Linked DNA regions of Homo sapiens: all the other regions are linked to region 1. The links are contacts of gene promoters, found by promoter capture Hi-C in blood cells and fetal thymus (Javierre and others, 2016). All regions are on one chromosome and are shown on one strand. Each heading gives the region's core, a stretch centred on a gene start or on the middle of the fragment in contact. The rest is flanking DNA. Distances are from core to core; before and after follow the strand shown. Region 1 holds the start of GCM1 (glial cells missing transcription factor 1). Region 2 overlaps KLHL31 (kelch like family member 31). Region 3 has its middle 12 kb from the start of LINC01564. Region 4 overlaps GCLC (glutamate-cysteine ligase catalytic subunit). Region 5 overlaps GCLC (glutamate-cysteine ligase catalytic subunit). Region 6 overlaps GCLC-AS1 (GCLC antisense RNA 1). Region 7 overlaps GCLC-AS1 (GCLC antisense RNA 1).

Region 1 (3,851 bases), core at 409-2,908:
GACCAACATGGAGAAACCCCATCTCTACTAAAAATACAAAATTAGCCGAGCGTGGTGGTGTGCGCCTGTAATCCCAGCTACTCAGGAGGCTGAGGCAGGAGAATCGCCTGAACTCGGGAGGCAGAGGTTGTGGTGAGCCGAGATAGTGCAATTACACTCCAGCCTGGGCAACAAGAGCAAAACTCCGTTTCAAAAAAAAAAAAAGATGAAGCAGGGTCTTAAACTTCAGGCAGGAAAGGAATTTGTTCATGAACTGAAAGACGAATGAGAAATCTATTAGGGGCCGCCGAATGCAACTATGAGGCTTTCCAAGCCTTTTGCCTTCTCGCCTTCTCATCTCTGCCTCCTAAGCCTCATCCTTGAAAGTCTGGACCTTCCTGACAGGTACTGATCCCTCGTCATGTTGTCCAGGATATTGTCACTCCCCGAAACACCCTCTTCCAGTCCTTCACGCCTTGATAAATATCTATTTGTCCTTCAAAAGGCTCATCGAGCATTATTTTGGTGGGTTTCCTTTGGTTCTCCTCCCTCCAGCTTAATAGCCTTCTCATTTATATTACTTTTATTCTATACATCAAATTAAATCGGCCTTATTTAGTAGCTTTAATCATCTTTTCTACTAGAATGAACTTCTTAATGGCTTTCATTCTCTCTTGTGTTGCCAAGGCCTGGCAGACTACCTAGAACAAAACATATGAACTGAACTGATTTAGGCTGTACTGCGGATGTCTCTAAAAGGAAGAATAGCACTGAGGGTATCTCTAGAAGAAATAATTGGTTTTTGTTTGTTCGTTTTTTTTTGTTGTTTTGTTTTGTTTTGTTTTTGTTTTTTTGAGATGGAGCCTCGCTCTGTCACCCAGGCTTGACTGCAGTGACGCAATCTCAGCTCACGCAACCTCCGCTTCCCGGGTTCAAGCAATTCTCTGCCTCAGTCTCCCAAATAGCTGGGATTACAGGCGCTCGCCACCACACCTGGCTAATTTTTGTATTTCTAGTAGAGACGGGGTTTCACCATCTTGGCCAGGCTGGTTTTGAACTCCCAACCTTGTGATCCGCCCACATCGGCCTCCCAAAGTGCTAGGATTACAGGTGTGAGCCACCACGCCCGGCCAAGAATTGTATATTTTTAGGGGATCAGAACACTTAGAATTAGTGGGACATTATTGCTAGGGTTAAGATAGCATTTCAGTATTTCTGGTATAGAGGATGTTGGCTATCCACTGTCTATTCCAGTAAATTTCCTCACCATAATATCTCTCTATCTCTGTCTGTCTGTCTTCTCTCTCTTGCACACATGAGAGAGAACTATTACCTGCCGGGTAAATAGTGGGAGAATTAGGACCTACTGTGAATCGTCTGCCTGGGGCCCAACCTGTAACATCACAAGAAGAAAAACATCTGTACTTCCTTATGAGGTTCTTTTCAATGTCCATTTTAGTTCAAATGTCCTCATAACATAAAGGGAGGGGGAAGTTCAGAGACACATCATAGAATATTCATCACATTGCTGGCATTCTGGGAAGAATCAGGCTGGTTAAGTGACTCCCAGGCTGCTCTTACCTATCCAGAGCCTAGAGCATCTAGATTTTGATTGGACCATTGCCAGAACTCATTAGCATAGTGTACCCTGACCTGGAATAGGGAACAGCGTCTGCTCAGAAAATGACCAGAGCCTGCTGGGACTTGAACCAGCAGTAAGATTTTCACGACACAGTGCTGTCTGCTTCTCCGTAAGAAGTTAGAAGGTAAGAAAGCCAGAAATCCCGTGGAGAGGCAAATGTAAGGGATGTGGCAACGACCACTCTATTCCTACAGGGTTTCATTTGTTCTAGTTCATTTTTCTGTAGAAATGATGAAAATTGAATATACTTTGCGCAAGTTGCTTTAAAAAAAGGAGTCTTGACAAGTGTAGTTTTTCAATCCTAGAAGAGGAAAACAGAGTTTACTTAAGGGCTGTAAAATGGTTTTTTCTTCTTTTCTATGTTTTGTTCTTAACTTTTAGGGAAATATTAAATTAATGCTCATTCGCTTAGCAAATGTTAATATCGAGAGAAAAATCTAAAATGTAACATAGTTGTTCTGTAATAAAATTTTCTTTATTATTCTTCCCTTAATTTAAAAACAAAATAATTATGTCTATATTGCCTAGGCTTTATAACAATGTTTTTGATTTTTGAAAATATGAATCTTATTTGCCAAGGTTTTTAAAAAGTAGATCTATTCCAATTAGTTATAACAAAATTTGCACCATCAGAGACAATATCGTTACTGTTCAGGGTAAGTACACGGAACTGCTGCTTGGTATCTGCATCTTCTATACCTGTTATTTAAGTCCTTTGAATTAGAGTCAATTTGCGGCATCATTTCTTCAGTAACACAATGTTTCTTTCCTAAACATAGAATTTTACTTAAAATCCATGAGGATTTAGTCTTGAAAATCAACATTCAGTTGGGGAACAGAAACTTCGTGCTCTGCAACCACTAGGTTGTAGCTCAGTATGGGTATGTGGAACAGACAGGAAGAGACTCTGATTAGCTTGTCATTTAATGGTCAAGAACTTTATTTATAAAGACTATACTTTCAGGGATCATTTCTATAGTTTGTTACTAGAGAAATTTCTCTGGACATCTAGAGCACACACAAAAAAGAAAAAAGGAACTTCATTCTTATGTTCAGGTCAACGGTCTTTTATATACATACACTTTCCCTTGGTAGAGTTCAGTGATTGACAAGTATTAGGATTATATAACACTAAATAACTAAAGAACAGGCCGGGCACAGTGGCTCATGCCTGTAATCCCAGCACTTTGGGAGACAGAGACGTATGGATCACCTGAGGAAAGGAGTTCAAGACCGGCCTGGTCAACATGGTGAAACCCCATCTCTACTGAAAATACAAAAATTAGCTGGGTGTGGTGGTGCGTGCCTGTAATCCCAGCTACTTGGGAGGCTGAGGTAAAAGAATCACTGGAGCCCCAGAGGTGGAGGCTATGGTGAGCTGAGATTGCGCCACTGCACTCCAGCCTGGGTGATAAGAGTAAGACTCCATTAAAAAAAAAAAAAAAAAAAAAACAATAAAAACTAAAGAAAAGAGTTCATGGGTCTCGCCAAAGCTTAGACTATTAATCTACCTTATAGTTTGAGTTCGCTATTAAATAGCTCTACATAACATCATTATGTCTCTTGTTTTTATAAGAGTACCAATAAATGAAATGTTATACATGTGAACATGTTTCACTTCATATCGTACTAACAAGTAGCTTTCATCTGCAAAATTATTCATTTTTTTCCTCAGGGTAGAACACTTCAAATTTTCTTTCTTTTTTTCTTGGTAAACCTCCTTTAACCAATTATAGTTAGAAATTAGAGCACTATTTCTCGTGAGGGAAGAAATGCCATTTGAACAAACTTTTATTTATTCATTCATTTATTTATTTATTCATTCATTCATTTATTTATTTTTTGAGACAAGGTCTCACTCTGTCACCCAGGCTGGCATGCAGTGACACAATCTTGGCTCACTGCAGCCTCAACCTCCTGGGCTCGGGTAATCCTCCACCTCAGCCTCCCAAAGTAGCTGGGACTACAGGTGTGCACCACCATGCCCAGCTAGTGATTTGTACTTCTTGTATAAACACGGTTTCTGCATGTTTCTCAGGCTGGTCTTGAACTCATAGACTTAAGTGATACATGTGTCTTGGCCTCCCAAAGTATTGGGATTACAGGCTGCTAGCACCTAATGGGTAGAGACCAGGGATGCTGCCAAACAGTCTACAACATGAAAAAAGCTCCCCACAACAAAGAATTATCTGGTCCAAAATGTCAATAGTGCCAAACTTAAGAAACCCTG
Region 2 (3,851 bases), core at 403-2,902, 510 kb before region 1:
CCTCTAAAACAATAAGCATTTGCAAGCCCTGTATCTACATGAATAAAAAAAAATGGCCACAGGAGTTCTTCCAGGAACACAGACAGGACTTTCCCCCCAAAATTTTCTCTGCTGTGCTAACCTAGCTCCTTATTGATATTTTGCATTTGCCATGTCTTGTGTCTCTAATATAAATTACATCTTGTACTGCTCCATCATTCCCAGCACTGGGCTGCCCACACCAAGATGGATATCTGATAACTGCTTGCTGACAAATATTCAAAAGTTTCTCCCAGAAAATCCAACAAAGAGACACTCAACACATAAGCTAATGCATTTGAGCATTAAAATGATAGAGGGTTCATAATCTATTTTCACAAGGTAAGGATGCATTTTGCATTGTTTGCAAAAAAAGAATGAGAAGAAGGATGTATGTGCTACAGCCTTGTAAAAAATATAAATGTGAATATGATAATTGGAGCTTAAAGAGGAAAACAAAAGCACTGGAAAAGAATTAGACCATCTCTATTTTCTGCCTACCTGCTACTCTTCTTCTGCATGGATAGGAACAGGAGCAAATACAATAGAAGGGCTACAAAATTACTTTAACACATACACCACCCATCAAATTGAAAACCCTTCAAGGAGAGCCAAAGCTGAGTTTTACCCCTCAGGATGAAATTACAATGGGATTTAAAACACACACACACACACACACACACACACACACACACACACACACAAAACAAAAACAAAAAATTGTAAACCACCTAAATACATAAATGCTTATCAACAGGATAATAGTTGAACAATGTATGATATACCCTTACTATGCATTACTATGCACCGATTATAAGGAATGAGGTGGATTTATACATGTACTGCTATAGAAAGGTGTACATGAATTACTACTAGTGAAAAGAGAAAATTGTTGAATAATTAGCATAAACCTGTTTGATATAAGTTTTCTATAGTGTTATGTTGGAGCTGGCTTGCACTGGCTCACAAGAGCTGATTGATGAATTTTCAGAAATTTGGTAAACTAATTGTTAAGCAGTTGATAGCTTGAAATCAGTCATGATGAGAGTATTTGCACCAAAGAAATCATCAGATTAGGCTGGGCAAGGTGGCTCATGCCTGTAATCCTAGCACTTTGGGAGGCCAAGACAGGTGGATTGCTTGAGCCCAGGAGTTTGAGACCAGCCTGGGCAACATGGTGAAACCCATTCTTTTCAAAAAATACAAAAAAGGTAGACAGGCATAGATAGTGTCATGCACCTGTAGCCCCAGCTATTCAGGAGGCTGAGGTGGGAGGACTGCTTGAGTCCTGGAAGTCAAGGCTGCAGTGAACCAAAATCACACCACTACACTCTAGCCTGGGTGATAGAATGAGACCCGATCTCAAAAAAAAAAAAAAAAAAAGTTAAAAATACTTGTTTTCCCAGTCTGTTGCTTGCCTTTTAAGGAGTCAGTTTTGTTTCATGGCTTTTATTTTTCTATATTCTGATATTTCAGTCTTTTCTTTTATAGCTTCTGGATTTTGTGTCAGCTGAGAAGGGCCTTCCCTAACCTAAGTTATAAAAACAAAAACAAAAACAAGATCCCTAGCTTGTTCTGGTCTTATATAAGTTTGTGTATGTGTGTATGTTACTTAGATATTTAATTCATCTGGAAGTTATTTTAGTGAATATATAGAGTAGCAAATCAGTTGACCTAATGCTGCCATTACAAGTTCTTTCTCATTGATTTTTAAGTGCCACATTTATCTTAATATATATACTTACACACACATACACTATATAAATATATAAATATGCACACACATATATACTGTATATATCTACACACACATACACACATATACATATATGGGTTTCTACCCTTTATTTTGTTCTTCTGAATTTATAGGTTTCTACCTCTTATCTTATTCCACTGAATTTCTTTTTATTCCTGATCCAAAATTTTTAGTTCCTCTAATTTTTTGCATCTGGTAAGAATTCCTTTATTTTTAAACAAAATTCCTAGATGTTCTTTTATACTCACTCCCTCAGTTAAACTCTGAAATCATTTTATTAAGTTCCAAAAAGAAAAAATATCTTATAGAGGTAGCAACTAAAATTTCACTGAAATGACATCCATCTCTTCATACAGGAATGTAGAGTCCCTGTCTGTTAAATCCTCTGGCAAAATCCTATAGTACTTATATGTGTCTCACTAAATTAGAGTCAAGTATATATATCTCTTAAAATATAACAGGTTTCATTGCTACTGCAAATAAAATAATCTTTCCATAATATTTTCTACATTTCACATGTATTCCTGAATTTTAGTATTTTACTGAGGAAAATCTTCAGAGTGTTTATAATTCACTTTTTCATGACAGTAAACTAAGCCCTTTAAATGATATTTAACTACTATTCTACTATATAGCTCAATCAGAAAATGTTGGTTGGGTATAGTGGCTCACATCTGTAATCCCAACACTTTGGGAGGCTGAGGTGGGCAGATCACTTGAGGCCAGGAGTTCGAGACCAGTCTGGCCAACATGGTAAAAACCCATCTCTACCAAAAATACAAAAATTACCTGGGCATGGTGGTGCACACCTGTAGTCCCAGCTACTTGGGAGGCTGAGGCAGAAGAATAGCTTGAACCCGGGAGGCAGAGGTTGCAGTGAGCTGAGATCATGCCACTGCACTCCAGCCTGAGCGACAGATAGAGGCTCTGTCTCAAAAAAAAAAAAAAAGAAAAAAAGAAAAAAGAAAGAAAGAAAATGTGGTCACTTTTTCTATATAATTACTTGGCAATACAGTTATGGAGAGATTTCATTTGATAACATAAATCTTCCTAGAATTGTCTTCAATGCTTCATGCTGAAGTAAACTGTCTGTAAAATGTACATCTAGTTTAATATGTCTTTAAATCTATTTTAAAAATTAATCTATTTTATGCCATGAAAACTATTATCTTTTGAAAAAGTTTCTCAATGTAGTATTTCAAAGTCTAAAGCACAATTAAAACAAAACCATGTTTTTTTTTTTCTCTTTTTAGCAAGCTCTTGCCTGTAACAGTGTATTTGCCAACATGGCACCCAAAAAGAAGATTGTCAAAAAGAACAAAGGAGATATCAATGAGATGACTATAATCGTAGAAGATAGCCCCCTAAACAAACTGAATGCTTTGAATGGGCTCCTAGAGGGAGGCAATGGCCTTAGCTGCATTTCTTCTGAACTAACAGATGCTTCTTATGGCCCCAACCTCTTGGAAGGTTTAAGTAAAATGCGGCAGGAGAACTTCCTATGTGACTTAGTCATTGGTACCAAAACCAAATCCTTTGATGTTCATAAGTCAGTCATGGCTTCATGCAGTGAGTATTTTTACAACATCCTAAAAAAAGACCCGTCAATTCAGAGGGTGGATCTCAATGATATCTCACCACTAGGCCTGGCCACTGTCATTGCATATGCCTACACTGGAAAGCTCACTCTCTCCTTGTATACAATAGGAAGCATTATTTCTGCTGCTGTTTATCTTCAGATCCATACTCTTGTAAAGATGTGCAGTGATTTTCTGATACGGGAGATGAGTGTTGAGAATTGCATGTATGTTGTTAATATTGCTGAAACATACTCCCTAAAAAATGCAAAAGCAGCAGCCCAGAAATTTATTCGGGATAACTTCCTTGAATTTGCAGAATCGGATCAGTTTATGAAACTTACATTTGAACAAATTAATGAACTTCTTATAGATGATGACTTACAGTTGCCTTCTGAGATAGTAGCATTCCAGATTGCAATGAAATGGTTAGAATTTGACCAAAAGAGAGTAAAATACGCTGCAGATCTTTTGAGCAATATTCGCTTTGGTACCATCTC
Region 3 (3,851 bases), core at 541-3,040, 490 kb before region 1:
AAGAAAATAAAATGAAGAGCTTACAGATCTAATAAAAAGTCACCAAACTGAACATGTAGTCTGAAAATTCAGAGCTTAAAGGTGAGATTCAAATGCCTCAGGTGGGCCGGGCTCAGTGGCTCACACCTGTAATCCCAGCACTTCGGGAGGTCAAGGCGGGCGGATCACTTGAGGTCAGGAGTTCAAGACCAGCCTGGCCAACATGGTGAAACTCTGTCTTGACTAAAAATACAAAAATTAGCCAGGTGTGGTGGCGTGTGCCTGTAATCCCAGCTACTCAGAAGGCCGAGGCAAGAGAATCACTTGAACCCAGGAGGTGGAGGTTGCGGTGAGCGGAGATGGCACCATGGCACTCCAGCCTGAGTGACAGAACAAGATTCTGTCACACACACACACACACACACACACACACACACACACACACACACAGAGAATATGTCATGAAACTTGGCAGAAAATCAATTTAGGAGATAGTTTACCTCTTAGAAATAGAGAATAAACTTTTTGAAACATAGGAATACATCACCAATATAAATGGAAAACACAACTCCTACAGGAAGATGAATAAAGACTTGAAGAAAGAATTGCAAGGAACAACTTCTTTTTATCAGCTCTCTTGACTAAGAAGAAAGAAGCTCAAGGAGCTAAGAAAATAGAAAGACTAAAATTGGCTAAAGCAGAGTTTAAATCCAGGTTTCCCAAGTAGCCTCCTAGTAGGCCAATTAATGCCACCCCTTCCCCACAGGTCCAATACCCTATTCTCTGGGTCCTGTGCATATGTTATTCTACATGGCAAGAGGGACTTTTTGTAATTAAGGTTGTGGATCTCAAGGTGCAGAGATTATCCTGGATTAACCAGATGGGGCCAGTCTAATCACTTGAGCCCTTAAAAGCAGAGAAGTTTTTCCAGCTAAAGTCAGACGTGCAGCAGAAGAGGAAATCTAAGAGCTTTCAAGTGTGAGATGGATTTGATGTGCAATCACTGGCTCTGAGATACAGTTGCCCAGATACAAAGCTAAAAAGAGGCCTCTCAAAGCTAATAGAAGTTCCCAGGTGACAGCCAGCAAGGAAATGGATACCTCAGTCCTACAACTACAAGAAACTGGATTGTGCCCACAATTTGAGTGAATCTCCCTATAACCCATGCTGTCAACACAGATTATAGCCTGGTGAAACCTGAAGCAGAGAAACCAGTCAAGCCAACCCAGACTTCTGACCTACAGAGCTATGAGATAATAAACATGTGCTGCTATAATACACTAAACTGTGGTGATTTGTCTAGCAGCAGTAGAACACGCATGTCCCTGCTCTTCAACCGTACTCGGGAATTTAGGGTCACATGCAGTTTGATTCCATTTTCAAAGCAATGAACTTTTGCATATCCACCACCACAGATTTGCCTGTGTTCTCTCTCCTTAAAAGTTGTTTTATCTCTTTTTAGTTGGACTGCTATCATTTAATTGATGCTATATTTCCTCTTATTGAGGTTTGATAAAGTTATAATTTTTAAGATAGTATTTTTAAAATATAATGCTTTAAATACTATTTTTATAAATACATTACTTCTACTTCAGTGGACCCTACAGAATTAGATCACATAAATATTGTATTTTTAGCCAGGCATAGTGGCCCATGCCTATAAACCCAGCACTCTGGGAGGCTGAGGTGGAGGATCACTTGAGTCCAGGAGTTCAAGACTAGCCTGAGCAACATAGCAAAACCCTGTCTCTACAAAAAATTAGCCAGGCATGGTGGTGCATGCCTGTAGTCCCAGCTACTTGGGAGGCTGAGGTGGGTGAATCACCTGAACCTATGAAGCCAAGACTACAGTGAGTCCTGATTGCACAATTACACTCCAGCCTGGGCAACCCGTGAGACCTTGTCTCAAAAAAAAAAAAAAATTTGTATCTTTAGTGAAATAGAAAGTCCATCATTATTTAAATGATCATTGAACTTTGACATGACCAGGTGGAGACGTTTGAAAGAATCAAGACCATTTCTATATTCTATGAGCTGTTATTAGAAATCAATACGATAAATTAATATTTTCTTCAATACATTTTGATTGTTTTTAAAAACAATGCACATATATACATTTTTTAAAATCTTAAACAATAACAACACTGTCAACTAAACTTTGTAATATTTTTAGTAGGCTAGATTTAAATGCATATATTAATTTAGGGGAGTTGACATTTTGCAATCATTTGTTTTTTATTTTGTAATTTATTTTTAACCTTTGTTACTTCATTTAGTGTATTCTTTGCTGTTTAAGTGGTTTTGTTTTATGCAGTGAAATAAAATATTTTCCATATATATCATATATATGGAAAACTATTCTATAATTGTATTACCTAGATTTTAAAAACACTACCTTAGAAATTATAATACTATCAAGCCTCAACAACAACAAATGTAGCATCAATTAAATAACAGGAGTTCAACTTAAAAGAAACATAATGACTTTTAAGTAGAGATAATGCAGGCAAACTTCTGTGGCTGTGGATGTACAGGAGTCTAGATAGATAGATAGATAGATAGATAGATAGATAGATAGATAGATAGATAAATTTCTTGAACTTTTGTTATGTCTAGCAACCTGTGAGATGCTGGAGTTCCAAAGATGAATAGACCTTTTCTCACTGTCTCTGGGAGTAGGGGGAAGTGAAGAAGGAGAGGCTGGGGAAACAGACATGTAAACAAATTATTGCTCTATGATGTAATACCTGTAATTACAGGGATATGCACAGAGCCTCATGGGATTGCTGCAGAAAGATTCTCTCTGGAGGAGTTAAAGCAAGGGAAAAATTCTGAGTCGATTTTTTTTTTACAGATTTAGAAATTCGGGATTATTGCGGATTGTGTACTGTGTTCAGAAAGCAGTATAATAAAGTCTATACCCTTGCCTCTCGAATTTTGCCGAGAAATTTAGCAAGTGCTATGACCTAATTGCCTCTTCTGTGGCCTTTGGAAAGCAGTTTAAACTGGGAATTGGAAGACTGGAATTTTGTACCTAGATCCAACATATGCTAAACAAATGGTTTGGGCCTCAGTTTCCACATTTGTAAACATAACAATGAATCATAACCACCCTGCTTATTTCATAGGACAGTTGTAAAGATTAAACTAGATAATGTAGGTGAAAACACTCTGAAAACACCAGGGTATTCTACACATTCATCTAGGTCATGACATTTCTATCTTGAGTTGTCTGTGGCCAATATTAATTACTACTATGCATTAAAATAGGAAATTAATCAGAGTAATAAAACTATGTGATTCCTTAGAGTCCCATGGCACATTTCTTCTGAAGCTCTGCACATTTGTCCCCTCTTTGGCTTCCTGATTTCTTTGAAGAATAAGCTGGGGCATGCATTATTACTCCAGGATTGCAGGAGACTGAAGAGCGTGAAGTAAGAAGCCCAAGGTAGCATGGCTGAATGAGGATTTGAGCTCCAGTGCTTGTCTTCAGACTTCCTTTACACACATAGTACCCAGAGCACCATGTAGAAATGACAGTGGTGCTTTCTAACAAATTATTTTGAAAGCTGCCCAGAACAGATAAGGATATATTTATTCCAATCACAGATGCTCAACAGTAAAGTTCATCCTTTTCAGTATTCAACTGGGAGAAACAATCATGCCTCTAAAATTGAAAAGAAGAGAGCACTTCCTGACTGAGCACCTCTCCTCCTTGTGCCTGGGGCTTCCAACTTTCTTTCAATGGTCTGCACACCGTGGGAGCCTTCTGTTCTTCTGCTCTAGCCATTCTGGGCACACAATGAGATTCCACATCTCTACCTGTAGAAATTCCTCCCATCCCTAAGCTCAGTTCAAAATGCCATTCACCA
Region 4 (3,851 bases), core at 940-3,439, 370 kb before region 1:
TTAGCCTTTTAGCACTAGAAGTCTAAGAGATTTTAATTTTCATTTGTAAAAATAGTGCACATTTAAAATCTGAATGTCTTGCAGAGTGGTCAGGCATTTTTTTATTGGGTCTCTTCTCCCTCAATTAAAAGGATAACTGATGGGTGCCAAAAAACAGTATCCCAGAGTCACCTTCAGGGCATTGTGACCTGTGTATTGCAGAGAATAGAGGTCGGTGGGTATTTTTTTCCCCTACTTCCAAGATGATATGTTAATTGCACAAGTTTAAATTGGTCACTCTGCAACCCATTTATAATGCTCTTTGGGTATGTATGCTTTTGGAGTTGTATATATGTGTAAAGTACATAAATATATTTGATGTTGCTGCAATTCTGGGTTTACAGCCTAGATGCTATTCAAAGTTAGTAAGCTGATACAGTTTTATCCTTGGAATCAGTGTTGTGATACAGAAAGGCATCTGTTTTATTATTTTCTTTTGTATGTTGTTCCTCTTATCCTTTGGATTCAAAAATGAAGTTTAGAATGGGGATACAATCCAGAAATCATAAAATAATTTATTGGGGCTTTAGATGTTTTATATTGGAAAATCGTTGTCTTAATGTATCACTTTTTATTATCACCAATCATCTCGGTTATTGCGTCAAACCCCATTTCAGCTCTAGTTTGACTTTTAAATATGCAGTTACGATTCAGAATGCTCATATAGACAGGCTCTAATCGGAAATAAACATAAATGTGTTGAGGTGGTGGGGGTGTTTAACAAAAAGCTAAAAGTTTGAAGAACCTCTTTGAGGACTAGTGCAGAAAGTTCAAGGTGACTGCAGAGAAGGAGCACTTCAGAAGGCATTACATTTTAGTTTGAAAAACCGTCAGGAAATTCTTGAGGCTTCCAACTGATGATTATTCTATTGAAAAGTAAATTTGGTTTTCTTTCTCATTTGGTAAATATTCTGATGTTTTTCTGTTTCATTTGCTTAATGAGATCATGAAGTGATTATACTTTAATTGAGGAGAGTTTGGTTTGTTAACATTTTAAATGTCATCCGTTTGGCATTTAAAACTGATATTTAAAACTCAGAATGAGCTTTAACTTTTTGTTCTTTTGCCCTACCCATGTTTTAAACTTGTGGGCTAAGAGTGAATTTGAAAACTAAGGATTTCAATTTTTTTCAAAGTTAGGAAACTAACAATTAAAGTTATTGCAACTTAGTTTATATAATTGCTACAAGTTCTTGCTCATTTGGTAAAAAATAAATGATGCACTCAGTAAGCAAGGAAGTATCTCTTAGACTTTCTTTAGGAAGCATGTTTTCTAGTTAAGCAAATAACTTAATTCCAGTAGCAGATGCCAGGCAGATGAGTTGGAGTCTAAGTGAGTGAAGGAGGAAGTACTGAAGAAGGAACATTTCCTCCTAGCTGGGAGAGTTAGGAATGCTACACAGAGTAAGTGGGTTCCGTCCTGGGCCTGAGGGATGGGCCAGTTCATCTGTTAAAATCTATGACTGTAACTATTGTTACAGCCCAGCTTCCATGATATAATGTTAGGACCCCTTCCATGAAATGAAAGCATAATCAATTTGAGATAGTTTCATCCAGTATTATAACTTTTCCCTGCTTCATATAGGTTATAACAATTTTATAAAAAGCTTATCTTCACTTACCAAGATTGGCACCCTCTACAGCCCTAGCAGCAAGGTGTGCTGGGCCTTGAGGCCAGACGGGGCTGGCTTCAAATCTCTGCCTGACACTTGTGGCCTTGAGTAGCTTACCTCTCTGAGCCCCTTTGCCCACCTGTGAAATGGGTAATCAAGCCTGCTTTTGCATGCTGGGTTTGAAGATTAGGATTCATATATGAAAGCATATCCTTTCTCATTATGCTTATTTAAAGATTAACTTGTATCTTTTCACATACCCATTCTGAGACTCAACCAAGTTTTCTGTTTCCAGGTTTTAGCTGTTCCGGAGTCACAGATCTATAGATGGTATCTTGCAACCTGTAATTGTTGTTGCGAACAGTTCCAGATTCTGCAGCCTAGTTTTTAGTCAGCTGACACTGAGTGATTCTGCAGGTGGAGATCTCATGTTTCTGGTTCGTGTACCCAAATCAAGCAGACTTTTCCATTTCTTGAGCTAAAAGATTCTGATGAGAGCTAATAAACGTTAACTGAAAGTTTATTTTGTTGTTGTTTAAATCTGCTAGGCTATCTCCTACAGTTACTAACATTTTTTTCCTCTTTATAATCATATTACTTAGCCCTTAATGTTTCTGTGATGAGGACGGCTGACTCAAATGCCTTCCAAGACCAGGGAAATACACATAAATAAGGGAATAAACTGCAGACAGTGTGCACCCCTGAAAAGCAAACAGCCCAGTCACACAGTCACAGGCTTCGTGCTGGGCTTCTGGGTATTGTTTTAAGACTGAGAACCTAGATTTACATGTGAAATATCTGGGAAATAGTGGATATACGGTTGCCTGCCTTTTTATTTTTTCTAAACTACTATTGTAGGCCAAACCAAATACACTGTAGCCTGGTTTGCCTTGTGAGGAATCAGTTTCCTACCTCTGTAGTAATTGTATTGGTGCCATGTGCAAAGGGTACTTTCAAGGGCTTGCCTGAATAATTCTGTATCTTTTCACTTATATATGGATAATGGATGTTTTGTTTCCATCACACACAGTGATTCATAATCTTCACTGCTCACGCCAACTGTCATGATTGAAAGCTTGTAACTTCAGGAAAAACAAAAGTAGGTTCTAGTTGTATTCTGCCCAGAAGTCTGACTTTGTGTTTATGTCCTTTATTTTTACTAGAATTCCACGAGGTATTGTTAATAAATGTACTAGTGCACCCTGCATTGCAAATTTTATATGGTTTCAGAGTGGAGAAGTTGCCTTAAATTACTTGAGATAAACCAAAATTAAATTGTTGAAACCCCTCAAATAACTTCTCCACACGGTATATTTATGATTATGATTTAACTCTCCAAAAGTGGGACTGGTAGTGGGATTATGAAAGTGTAATCTACCTTACTTATTACTCTGCCAGTAAGTAAGTGTAATCTACCTTGACTGGAATGTCCAGATAACCTCTTTCTTAAACTTATAGTAAGCCAACTGAGGAAATAAATTTTAAAATGCAGCTTCTTTTTTACAACAGCAATTTACAGAATCTTTGCTTCAAAACACATCTTTTTTTTGAAGTACAGCTTGTCAAAATGGGTATCGACCTTTCCATAGGATATTAAGTAGGACAGAGGAAAGAAGGGATGGAAGTGGCACTACTGACTGATCCTTTCTACAGGTTTCCATATTATGCATATGAACACTTATGTGCTGTACTGTAAACAAATGTGACTGTCTGGAGTTACTGTGGATCCTTTACAGACTTCACGTTTCCCTGCCTTTTTCTTCTGGAGGCCACACTGAAAACAAGTCTGGAAGAATGTTAATTTTTCTCACCTTTATTTTCAATAGGTGGAATACATGTTGGTATCTTTTGATCATGAAAATAAAAAAGTCCGGTTGGTCCTGTCTGGGGAGAAAGTTCTTGAAACTCTGCAAGAGAAGGGGGAAAGGACAAACCCAAAGTAAGCTCTCATGTGCTGATTTAGTGTTTCTGAAACTGCTAAAACTTCTAGAATATAGAGTTTTTTCTCAATTATTGGAGGCAGGATAGCCTAACAGTTAAGAGTACAGGCTCTGGTTTCAGGTTGCCATAGTTTCAAATCATGGTTCCTTTACTCAATAGCTGAATAACCTTGGGCAAGTTACTTAACTTTTCTGTGCCTCAGTTCTCTCATCTGTAAAGTAAAGATCATAGCAATACCTACCTAAGGTGTTGGAATTA
Region 5 (3,851 bases), core at 815-3,314, 350 kb before region 1:
GGATGGGAAAGGCCATGGGGGAATTAAAGGCATGGTTAATAAGCTTGGTTGTATGCGTATATTACGTATCTCATACCACATCTTTTTTCAAATGCCATGAGTAAGATTTACAAAAATTAAAGAAAATCTTCACTTCTCAAAAGTAGACATAATACAGCATGCGTTCCCGCTAAAATTCAACGAAAGAGATACTCTGGAGAAATTTAACATTGGAAATTAAAAATGTCTTTCCAAGTAGATTTTAGATTAACCAAAACTAGAATTACAGATTGTGTAGGAAAGTGAAAGACATGCTGGCAGAGCTGATGTCTAAGGAAAAATTATAGCTTTAAATGTCTTAACAAAAAGATTTTAAATCTAAGTCATTGAGTATCTAAAGAGCAAAGTAAAATATACTTTGAAAGGAAGTCATCAAAGCACAAATTATAAGTGGTCGTTATGAACTTTTTTCAAGACTAAGGAAAAAAGAAACAAATATTAATAATGAAAGCAGATGTTCACAGCCATGGTGGAATGTATACTATTTATTTGAGTATGCTCCTAGAGTATCTAGATTCTTCAGAAGGTCCTGTGTGTCTCTTAAAAAATGAAACCATAACAATCGCACTCCCTGCATAATGAATATGGGAGGAGACTTGGTAATCAAGAGAGCTTATGTACCATCTGTCCCATGTCAGCCTGGCCCTCTAACTGGTCACTGTTGTATATATTGAGGTCCCACATAAGATTTCATTATAGAAAATAAGGGATTACTACTAAAACGTTTTTTAAATTCTGCTTTGAGAGTCTTAAAAAGTCATTGGAGATACAGAGAATTCACAAATAAAACAGTTTTCGGTTTCATGAGTGAGTCTACATGTCCGGAGGCACCAGATGGGTAAAACAGCAGTGATCTTCTGCCCTTGGGAGGGCTGTAACCTTATTCCAGATATGACAACCTATGAACTGTCTTTGCCTTTCCTCACTAAAGTGGGGAGGCAAAACCCCAATGGCGAGGCAGCAGGGGAAGAGCACTCAACTTAGAAGAACCGGGTTATAGGCCGGGCGCGGTGGCTCACGCCTGTAATCCCAGCACTTTGGGAGTCTGAAGCGGGCAGATCACTTGAGGTCAGGAGTTCGAAACCAGCCTGGCCAACATGGTGAAACCCCGTCTCTACTAAAAATACAAAAAAATTAGCCGAGTGTGGTGGTGCAGGCCTGTAATCCCAGCTGCTTGGGAGGCTGAGGCACAAAGAATTGCTTGAACCCAGGAGACAGAGGTTGGGGTGAGATGAGATTGCACCACTGCACTCCAACCTGGGCAACAGAGCGAGACTCCATCTCAAAAAAACAGAAGAAGAACTGGGTTCTAGTCCTGCCTTCTGCCTTCGTTACCCTGGGACTCCTGGTGAGACACTGCTATATAAAGGGAACCAGCCACCTGCCCTCCCAACACTGTATATCTGTTGCAAGGCTCAGTCACAGAGGTGCTTTGAAATGCAGACGTTCCACATGAATATAAGTTTTGGGTTTTAAGTTTCTCTTAAAATTCCCTGATTGGTTGAAAAATCACATACCAATCCATGATTGAGTGATACAGTCCTCACATAAATAAAAAGCCTGTTCCTCCCACTGGGAAGCATTTGAGCAGAAAGTAGAATCCCTAAGGGAATGAGTCCTAATTGCAAAGGTGAGGAAGGTGCTGCAACTTGTATGTCTGATCAAGAATATTTTGACTTAGTCGTGATTCTTTTTTTCCCTTAGGTTGATGAGAACATGAAGGTAGCACAGAAAAGAGATGCTGTCTTGCAGGGAATGTTTTATTTCAGGAAAGATATTTGCAAAGGTATTACATTATCTTAGATTTCTAATGTCAGCTTATGCTGCAACAAGCTGCTAAAGCTCCCCTGACCCTCTTCTCCGGCAGGTGGCAATGCAGTGGTGGATGGTTGTGGCAAGGCCCAGAACAGCACGGAGCTCGCTGCAGAGGAGTACACCCTCATGAGCATAGACACCATCATCAATGGGAAGGTAGGAGGGTGGCCCTGTACAGTACCCCTCACTGTGCACATCCCCCGGCAGGGAGTTCATAAAGTGTCCTGCTTCTTGTAGGAAGGTGTGTTTCCTGGACTGATCCCAATTCTGAACTCTTACCTTGAAAACATGGAAGTGGATGTGGACACCAGATGTAGTATTCTGAACTACCTAAAGCTAATTAAGAAGAGAGCATCTGGTATGATATCTATTTTTCTTAATCTCATAATATAGACAGCATGGTATAATCTTAGAATGTTCAATTTCTTAAAGTAGTCTTTTAAAATAATGCTGTATTCATGCACAGTTTCACATTTTTATATTTCTGCAATTGTATTCACCTTATAATCTTTGACACTCATAATTTAGATTAGTAGTGCTTTTTTTCTTATCAGTTCATAAAATAGGGGTGCATCTGAAAATCACTGGCATCTTAGATGATGAAATGGCATCTGGATTGCTTACTTATCATTTACGTCCAACTGTGTTGATCTTACATCATCATGGGCCCTTTTATAGGGCTAAGGAACTCTGTAAGTTAAATAAGCTGAACAGTTCTTTAGCCTGCCTTTGTACATACAGTGAGGCTCCTGAGAATCCCCTTTCTTTGTTAGTTTTGAGGAGGTTACATTTACAATACAGTACAGTAACCAAGTACTGCTAACACAGTACTTGGCACAAGGGAGCTGTCAGCTGTTAATAAAGTGACAGCAATAATGGTAATGGCATCTGTATTTAACTCAAGGCTTCTGTAAACTTTCTGGAGTCACAAAGGATAGCCGTAGAACCCTACCTCACCCCTCAAATGGTATACTGCCAATTTCCCACTTCATTCACTCTACTTACTGTTCTTTATTCTCTCCACCTCTTTGATCAAAGATCGCTCAAGGACCCTACAGTCCTCTGAGGCAGTCTCATGACACTGGCATTTGTAGTCCTAGCCCTCTGGCCAAATGGGAGGGCACATGTTCTTGTACACATGTGCTGGCTCCTGTTCCTTAAGAGCTGGCAGTGTCAGCATATGGGTGGCATCTAACAGGTACCATAGAAACTGGATGTATGTGTTCTCATTGCCTGCCTGCAACCTAGAATTCCTGCCCAGGAGGAGTTCTTCAAACGCTATGAAAGATGTTCCCACCCCCTGCCATGCAGCTACACTAAAAGGACATATTGATTTCTCTCCAGAATTGTGTTTATGCTGACCACTAAATATCAACTTATTAAAAAAAAAACTTACGTGGTTTTAATTTTTTTTTCGCTCCCCCCTCGCCCACAGGAGAACTAATGACAGTTGCCAGATGGATGAGGGAGTTTATCGCAAACCATCCTGACTACAAGCAAGACAGTGTCATAACTGATGAAATGAATTATAGCCTTATTTTGAAGTGTAACCAAATTGCAAATGAATTATGTGAATGCCCAGAGTTACTTGGATCAGCATTTAGGAAAGTAAAATATAGTGGAAGTAAAACTGACTCATCCAACTAGACATTCTACAGAAAGAAAAATGCATTATTGACGAACTGGCTACAGTACCATGCCTCTCAGCCAGCCCGTGTGTATAATATGAAGACCAAATGATAGAACTGTACTGTTTTCTGGGCCAGTGAGCCAGAAATTGATTAAGGCTTTCTTTGGTAGGTAAATCTAGAGTTTATACAGTGTACATGTACATAGTAAAGTATTTTTGATTAACAATGTATTTTAATAACATATCTAAAGTCATCATGAACTGGCTTGTACATTTTTAAATTCTTACTCTGGAGCAACCTACTGTCTAAGCAGTTTTGTAAATGTACTGGTAATTGTACAATACTTGCATTCCAGAGTTAAAATGT
Region 6 (3,851 bases), core at 827-3,326, 330 kb before region 1:
TTGTTCTCAGTAACATGGAAATGATAGCATCTGCCTAACAGTCATTTTGAACAGGAAGCGTCCCTCTGGCCGGGTGCCTCGTGCATGGCAGATTATCAGTAAATGTCAGCCTCTGCACTGCTTTGCAAGTAGGTCCTTTGGCCGCTCTCAAATGCAAGTCACACAAAGATTGTGGGAGTTTTTTTTTTTTTTTTTTAAATAGAAAATACATCATTCCTATAGAGAAAAAAATACAGTCACATTTAATAATGGCTGTTTAGACAGGGACAGGTTCTCTCGAGCCTCTGGAGGTGGTGGAAAGTGGAGGTGGGTCACTGATCCCAAGAAATAAGCTACAGGACTGAGGCCAGTTTCTGGAGAGGGGATGGTCACTCCTATATTTAAGCCAATAGTGAAGGTTAAGTAGGAGAGTCCAGAGGGACCCTTGAGCCCACTTGCTTGACAATATTGGTGCAGGACAAGTCTAACCCTCCTAACTGGGCAGCTGCCCCCTCCCAATAGTGGTCTCTCTTATGGAGAAAATTTTTACCCGATCAACTTATTCTCGTGAAGCACAAGGGCCTGATATGAACACCCCTTCTGTAGGCATTTTCAAAGAACTTAGTGAGGGTAACAGAAAGAAAAACCTCTATGCATCGAACTTCAGGCACCATCGGAGAAATGTCTTTTCTTAGATTGGCTTTCAAAGTATCTTTAAATCACCCTATTACAAATGGGGTATTAAATAGCCTGCTCTGCCTAGAGAAAAGGTTCCCAAGATTCCTTGTAGCTGCTGGGAAGTTACTGAAATCCTCAGTGACGTGTTTTGAAAAAGTGTTGACAATACAGCGGAAAGTTGCATCTGGCAGCTAACAAATATTTCTTGAGGGTCCACTCGATGCCAGGGATTGTTGCCCTGAAAATGCAAGGCTACCAAAACAAGCAGTTCAGGCCCTCAAGAACCCTGAATGTTCATGAGTACCCACCAAGTGTCACATAGAGCTTATGTCTCAGATGTTTTTCACAGTCCACCCCCCCAGGATGCATTTCCAAATTCTGTGGAGAGCCTAGAACTGTTTCCTCAAAGCCCTTTAGAGCAGTGAGGCACCAATATCTCTCTTTATTACTCCTTTTTCTTTTCTTTCTTTCTTTTTTTGTTTTTGTTTTTTGTTTTGTTTTGTTTTTTTAGAGATGGAGTCTCACTGTATTGCTTAGGCTAGTCTCAAACTCCTGGGCTTAAGCAATCCTCCCATCTCAGCCTCCTGAGCAACTGGGACTACAGGAGAGCACCACCATGCCCAGCTTTATTACTTCTTTTTAAAAAATAAAACTTTTTTTTAAAAGCAGAGAACGTGCTCATTCATTCTGCAGCTGGATCTTGAATAACTTTTCCACTTTGAGAGTTCTGACCCCAAAAACATTGCTGTCACTTTCCAGGTGTTCTATCCTTCCTTGGACCCCATAGCCTGGCTGCCCAGGTCAGACAAGTATGGAACATTTGTTTGTGAGGACAGAGACAGCCACTGGCAACATACCGAGGTATTACAGAGACTTGCTGTGAAGCAAGGCCAACAAAACATCACTTACACAATCAAATAACAAAGAGGGGCATCTTTTTCAAAATTAAAGGTCTATGTGTAAATAAATTCTTTCTGAAAAATAAACAAGATATGAGATAAGGATCCAGGTTTGCTTTGGTATCACTATGGTTACTAGAATGATGTTCAAGACATTTTCACCATGTTCTCCTCCTTTTGAATGCACGCCACAAGTAAAGCATGCCTGAGTTTGGTCTAGAGAGCCTAGGGTGCATTCTCTTTCATGGATGTAGAAGGGATGCAGTTAGCACATTGCTAGTCTTAAAAACAAACAAAAATCCTAGGGAAGATCCTCTCCTTTACTGGCTCAAAAAAGCCCCTGGTAAGAAAAAGTTGTTATACTATTAATGACATGACTGTTTGGTATTGTAAATATCACTCTCAATCAACCAGTATTAGTGAGCACTTCTGAGCACACTCACCATAAGAAGTCATTTACCCGATGGTTATTGAAACTGTTCCATATGAAATTTTGAATTAGTTGCTCAATGTTCTCATTTTTGCCACAGTGTTTTTCTTGACCTAGAGACATACTCAGTTCTATTCCTCATAAGAACAAACTCTTAACTTTGTTCCTGTAACCTAGACTGAGGACTCAGAACTGACCTCGTTTCACTGCTGCATAATACCATATTTCCTGTTTGACAAAGATCCTACCTTGAGCTTGCAAAGACTCCCTGCTTCTTAAAACTGAAACTGGACCCCTTCCTTACACTTTATACAAAAATTAATTCAAGATAGATTAAAGACTTAAATGTAAGACCTAAAACCATAAAAACCCTGGAAGAAAACCTAGGCAATACCATTCAGGACATAGGCATGGGCAAAGACTTCATGACTAAAACACCAAAAGCAACGGCAACAAAAGCCAAAATTGATAAATGAGATCTAATTAAACTAAAGAGCTTCTGCACAGCAAAAGAAACTATCATCACAGTGAACAGGCAACCTACAGAATGGGAGAAAATTTTTGCAACCTACTCACTTGACAAAGGGCTAGTATCTAGAATCTACAAAGAACTGAAACAAATTTACAAGAAAAAAACCCCATCAAAAAGTGTGCAAAGGATATGAACAGACACTTCTCAAAAGAAGACATTTATGCAGCCAACGAACATATGAAAAAAAGCTCATCATCACTGGTCATTAGAGAAATGCAAATCAAAACCACAATGAGATACCATCTCACGCCAGTTAGAATGGTGATCATTAAAGTCAGGACACCACAGATGCTGGAGAGGATATGGAGAAATAGGACTGCTTTTACACTGTTGGTGGGGGTGTAAATTAGTTCAACCATGTGGAAGACAGTGTGGCGATTCCTCAAGGATCTAGAACGAGAAATACCATTTGACCCAGCGATCCCATTACTGGGTATATACCCCAAGGATTATAAATCATTCTACTATAAAGACACATGCACACATGTTTATTGCGGCACTATTCACAATAGCAAAGACATGGAACAAACCCAAATGCCCATCAACGATAGACTGGATAAAGAAAATGTGGCACATATACACCATGGAATACTATGCAACCATAAAAAGGATGAGTTCATGTCCTTTGCAGGGACATGGATAAAGCTGGAAACCATCATTCTCAGCAAACTAACACAAGAACAGAAAACCAAACACCACATGTTCTCACTCATAAGTGGGAGCTGAACAATGAGAATACATGGACACAGGGAGGGGAACATCACACACTGGGGCCTGTCAGGGGTTGGGCGGACCAGGGGAGGGATAGTATTAGGAGAAATACCTAATGTAGGTGATGGGTTGATGGGTGCAGCAAACTACCATGGCACGTGTATACCTATGTAACAAACCTGCACGTTCTGCACATGTACCCCAGAACTTAAAGTATAGTAAAAAAAGACTCCCTGCTTCTTAGTCATTTTCCCTGATAAACATATAAAATGATTGATCATGAATAGAGAGAAAAAGGCACAAATAAGGACAGGAGGCAGTAGAACATAGAGCTCAAGGAACAAGGTCTCTGGCATCTGATTGCTTGACTTTAACTATGTGACCTTGGGGAAGTTACCTAACCTGCTTATGCCTTAGTTTCTTCGTATGCAAAGTAGGGATGGTAATAATAGCACTTACAGAGTTGTGAGGATAAAAGAACTAGTACAAGTCAAGCATTTAAGATAGTGCTTATAGAATAGTAAGCACTCAATAAATGCTAGCTATTTTTCTAGCTGAGTGCAGTTTTAAAAAATTATCCTTAAAAAAAATTCAAAAGACTACTGTAAACTTTAAGTTGATA
Region 7 (3,851 bases), core at 449-2,948, 310 kb before region 1:
TGTGTATACAGAGTTGTCCCTCAGTATTCATTGGGGATTGGCTCCAGGATCATCTGCAGATACCAAAATCCACAGATGTTCAAGTCCCTGGTATAAAATGGTGTAGTATTTGCATATAAGCTTTGCACATCCTCCTATATACTTTAATTCATCTCTAGATTACTTATAATGCCTAATGCAATGTACCATGTCATTTCTACCATGCTATTTATATTATTTTGTGTTTTCCTTCTGTATTAAGCCAAGTTAACAAATATTTAGCAGGAAGATATTTCTAGGAAGCTTAGTTTAACTAAATGAGGTTTTCCAACTCACTCATCATATTTTGTCCTAAATTTCATATTGGTGTTTTGTCTCTTCTGGAACTGTAAGCTTTCTGGAGACACTGACAGGTCTGATTCACTTTATTGTGCACCACAGTAATTAGATAAAGAGACGAAGCAACATCTCATTGTGTCTTAAATACTTCAGGCCTGGCGTGGTGGCTCGCGCCTATAATTCTAGCACTTTGGGAGGCCAAAGTGGGAGGACCATTTGAGGTTGGGAGTTCAATAACAGCCTGCCAACATGGTGAAACCCTATCTCTACTAAAAATACAAAAATTAGCCGGGCGTGGTGGTGCGTGCCTATAGTTCCAGCTACTCAGGAGGCTGAGGCAGGAGAATCGCTTGAACCCAGGAGGCAGAGGATGCAGTGAGCTGAGATCACACCACTGCACTCCAGCCTGGGCAACAGAGTGAGAGTTGGTCTCAAAAAACGAAAACAAAAACAAAAAAAAACAAAAAACAACAAATGCTTCTGCTGATATCCCTCTGCTATCCATGATGAAGTCTCGTAGCTCTCACCATGCTGCTTCTATGCTCATTGTCTCCATTCTCTAGCCTTCGTGAAGAAGTGTGGCTCTTCTCTGAGATTAGACCCTTTACCTGAGCGCCTGCCTTAGGCCTTTTCCCACCAACCAGTCTTTTCAAGGACTCTTCCTTTCAAGACCCCTCCCCTCTGTAATCCCAGACCCTGAAACCCCTTTGCTTCACCCTACTCCTTTCTCTTTCTCCCTTTTTATTTTTTTATTTTTATTTTTATTGTTTTTGAGACAGAGTCTCACTCTGTCACCCAGGCTGGAGTGCAATGGCGCGATCTCGGCTCACTGCAACCTTTGCCTCCTGGGTTCAAGCGATCCTCCCACCTCAGCCTCCAGAATAGCTGGGACTATAGGCATGTGCCACCACACTTGGCTAATTTTTTTGTGTGTGTTTTTAGTAGAGATGGGGTTTCACTATGTTGGCCAGGCTGGTCTCGAACTCCTGACCTCGTGATCTGCCTGCCTTGGCCTCCCAAAGTGCTGGGATTACAGGTGTGAGCCACTATGTCTGGCCTACTTTCTCTCTCTTTTATGCCATTTTCTTATTTCCTTTTACTGCTTTTTGAAAGAATGTACTATATACTTATTTAGTCATTTAACTAATGGCAGAGTCGGTTACATGGGCATGTGGCCAGGTGCAGGGCTCTGTGATCAGAAGGAGGCCCAGGTTTGGGATTTAATAATCTGCTGTTGCTGTCTTAGAGTTCCTAATAATTTCGTTTTTGTTTATTTCTTTGTTTGTTTGTTTTACCAGAGACAAGTTCTGGCTATGCTGCCCAGGCTGGTCTCAAACTCCTGAGCTCAAGTGATCTGCTGGCCTCAGCCTCCCAAAGTTCTGGGATTACAGGCATAAGCCACCGACCTGGACAATAATTTCACTTTGAAATGACTTGGGAGTCATGATGCAGGGAGAGCTGAAGTCATGAGAATGCAGGTCTGTGAGGAGAAATCTAGAGACAAACAGGAGAACCAAGCAATCAATCTGGGAACTTTTTCAATCAATGGAGGAGATAGGAACCAGCAAAGAAGCTCTGAGCTGGCCTTCGAGTAAAGAAGGACAGTTGAAGTGTTAAAGATTAGTGGAAACAAAGATTCCAAAAAGCAGGGATGGGGACCGTGTTAAATGCTGTGGAAGCTCCAGAAAGATGCTGGGAAGAGAGGTTTGGATACAGATGGGAGGTTCTTGATGAGACTGTTTGCATTTACGCCTGTTGTCCCAGGATAATTATTAGTAGCATCTTTTTTTCACCCTCAGAAGCATCCCCATTTGGCCACCCTAGATATTGGTAAACTTTGAAAGACAGTGTCAGTTGAGCGGTTGGAAGTAAAAGCCAGACTTCCCCGAGTTAAGGAGAAAGATGAAAAAGTGGAGGCAGGGCCCTGTCCTTCTTCACAGCTCAGGGGTCCCCAATGGAATCGTTTGAGAGTGAATAGAACAGAGGAATAGGACAATGACTAGCTTTATGAAGAGGCGTCTGCTCTTCCATTTACTTGTTTTTGTTTCAATGAAGGTAAAGATAAAAATAGAGAGGTTATCTGCCCTTATACTAAGAAGAATAAGCGCAGTATGTTCTCCTGCTACGTGCTGTGTTCTTTGTTGGAATGAATGTGTGAAGTTCCAACATGAAGTCTGCAGGAGCTTTGGCTGCTCTTCTCCAGCTGCAAGACAGTTCGGAGAGCAGGCGGCAGGCAGCAGCCCCACCCTAGTGAGAGTTTAAAGCACTTTCCCCTTTCTATTGTTTGACAGGGAGGGGTGGAGTTCAGAGCAATCAAAAGGACGCTGCAATGGTTTTGCATTGTAATTTTATTACTTAATATATTATAAAATTTAGTTAATTCTAATTAGTTTGTGTGTGTGTGTGTGTGTGTGTTCATCTCCTTATTTTCTGGAGTGTGAAATGGTAAGAGCATTTTTAAAGCCAGGGCTTATTTACTAAAATGAACCCTTTTTTCCTTTCTCTGAGATGCATGAAACCAACAGAGAAAATGTATTTGAAGAGGGGGTTTTTAGGGTTGAGTAAATTAGAAGAGGATGTCATTTTAAGGAAGAGAAAACATGTTAGTGAGAGGAAGCTGCTTCATTTGTTTAAAATGTACACACAGATGGGAAAGTTATACAAATGATTATTCAAATAAAAGATAAAAAGGACATTAGAAGCTTGATATATCACTTATGCGAATCCAGTGCTTTTCTGTAGAAAAATTACCTCCCTGATCCTTTTCTTCTGTGGGATCTAGTGGTCTGGCTCATAAGATGTGAGGGAGAAGCAAGTGTAGGACAGGCTTTGGAACCACCTGCTTTCAGCCATAAGGGGCTTCCTTAAGGGGCACAGCAACTACATGTCTCTAATGAGTGACAATCCCATGGTGGAAGAAGTGAATACTAGTAATGAAAGTTGTGGCAGTTCTCTCAGGAGAGTGTCAAAAAATTGCATTCACTTTCATAGTCTACCCCCCCAGCATACTTCAAATGAATATAGTGTATTTCCCCATCTTTGCCTTTTGCAACATATTTCCCAATTAGGGTTACCAAATTTAGCAAAGAAAAATGCAGGGTATCCAGTTAGAGTTTTAGAAAAACAAGAGAAAGGTTTTTTTTTTCATTTTTCAACTTTTAATTTTTGTGGGTTCATAGTAGGTGTATATATTTATGGAATGTATAAGATATTTTGATATAGGCATACAATGCATAATAATCATATCAGGGCAAGTAGAGTATCCATCACCCTATGCATTTATCCTTTCTTTGTGTTACAAACAATCTAATAATATTCTTCTAGTGATTTTTAAATGTGCAATAAATTATTGTTGACTGTAGTCATCCTATATGTCTGTTTATATGCCTGTACCATGCTGCTTTGGTTACTATATCTCTGTAGTGTAATTTGAAGTCAGGTAATGTGATTCCTCCAGTTTCATTCTTTTTGCTCAGGATAGCTTTGGCTATTTGGGGTCTTTTGTGGTTCTATATCAATTTTAGGATTTTTTT

Evidence for each region. The method cuts DNA at HindIII sites, captures the fragments that hold promoters and counts their contacts. A CHiCAGO score of 5 or more calls a contact.
Region 2: a fragment that was not itself captured here is called in contact with the fragment with the promoter of GCM1 in region 1 in 2 of 17 cell types (monocytes and naive B cells); the score reaches 5.3 in monocytes.
Region 3: a contact is called between a fragment that was not itself captured here and the fragment with the promoter of GCM1 in region 1, in 1 of 17 cell types (neutrophils). The highest score is 5.7, in neutrophils.
Region 4: a contact is called between a fragment that was not itself captured here and the fragment with the promoter of GCM1 in region 1, in 5 of 17 cell types (naive B cells, total B cells, M1 macrophages and 2 more). The highest score is 7.6, in naive B cells.
Region 5: a fragment that was not itself captured here is called in contact with the fragment with the promoter of GCM1 in region 1 in 8 of 17 cell types (naive B cells, total B cells, neutrophils and 5 more); the score reaches 10.1 in naive B cells.
Region 6: a contact is called between a fragment that was not itself captured here and the fragment with the promoter of GCM1 in region 1, in 17 of 17 cell types (total CD4 T cells, monocytes, neutrophils and 14 more). The highest score is 22.4, in total CD4 T cells.
Region 7: a contact is called between a fragment that was not itself captured here and the fragment with the promoter of GCM1 in region 1, in 12 of 17 cell types (non-activated CD4 T cells, naive CD8 T cells, activated CD4 T cells and 9 more). The highest score is 12.0, in non-activated CD4 T cells.

The regions. Positions count from the first base shown.
Region 1 is chr6:53,146,648-53,150,498 of GRCh38, reverse strand. It overlaps GCM1 (glial cells missing transcription factor 1), which reads left to right and starts at 1,658. Exons shown (of 6, transcript NM_003643.4): 1 at 1,658-1,745. It also overlaps the pseudogene LOC124901513. The HindIII fragment of the contact is 12,096 bases long and covers 1-3,116 here.
Region 2 is chr6:53,654,482-53,658,332 of GRCh38, reverse strand. KLHL31 (kelch like family member 31) reads left to right here. Exons shown (of 3, transcript NM_001003760.5): 2 at 3,028-3,851. The coding sequence starts at 3,061. Among named protein-coding and RNA genes, the nearest start is that of KLHL31, 9.3 kb to the left of the region's middle. The HindIII fragment of the contact is 4,902 bases long and covers 1-3,851 here.
Region 3 is chr6:53,638,550-53,642,400 of GRCh38, reverse strand. No RefSeq gene overlaps it. Among named protein-coding and RNA genes, the nearest start is that of LINC01564, 12 kb to the right of the region's middle. The HindIII fragment of the contact is 4,667 bases long and covers 1-3,851 here.
Region 4 is chr6:53,522,155-53,526,005 of GRCh38, reverse strand. GCLC (glutamate-cysteine ligase catalytic subunit) reads left to right here. Exons shown (of 16, transcript NM_001498.4): 2 at 3,479-3,591. Among named protein-coding and RNA genes, the nearest start is that of GCLC, 21 kb to the left of the region's middle. The HindIII fragment of the contact is 1,081 bases long and covers 1,649-2,729 here.
Region 5 is chr6:53,498,406-53,502,256 of GRCh38, reverse strand. GCLC (glutamate-cysteine ligase catalytic subunit) reads left to right here. Exons shown (of 16, transcript NM_001498.4): 13 at 1,744-1,825; 14 at 1,907-2,010; 15 at 2,092-2,212; 16 at 3,290-3,851. The coding sequence ends at 3,501. The region is part of intron 3 of GCLC-AS1 (GCLC antisense RNA 1); the gene reads right to left. Among named protein-coding and RNA genes, the nearest start is that of GCLC, 45 kb to the left of the region's middle. The HindIII fragment of the contact is 4,037 bases long and covers 46-3,851 here.
Region 6 is chr6:53,479,849-53,483,699 of GRCh38, reverse strand. All of the region lies in intron 3 of GCLC-AS1 (GCLC antisense RNA 1), which reads right to left. Among named protein-coding and RNA genes, the nearest start is that of GCLC-AS1, 50 kb to the right of the region's middle. The HindIII fragment of the contact is 4,576 bases long and covers 1-3,851 here.
Region 7 is chr6:53,460,605-53,464,455 of GRCh38, reverse strand. All of the region lies in intron 2 of GCLC-AS1 (GCLC antisense RNA 1), which reads right to left. Among named protein-coding and RNA genes, the nearest start is that of GCLC-AS1, 31 kb to the right of the region's middle. The HindIII fragment of the contact is 2,648 bases long and covers 375-3,022 here.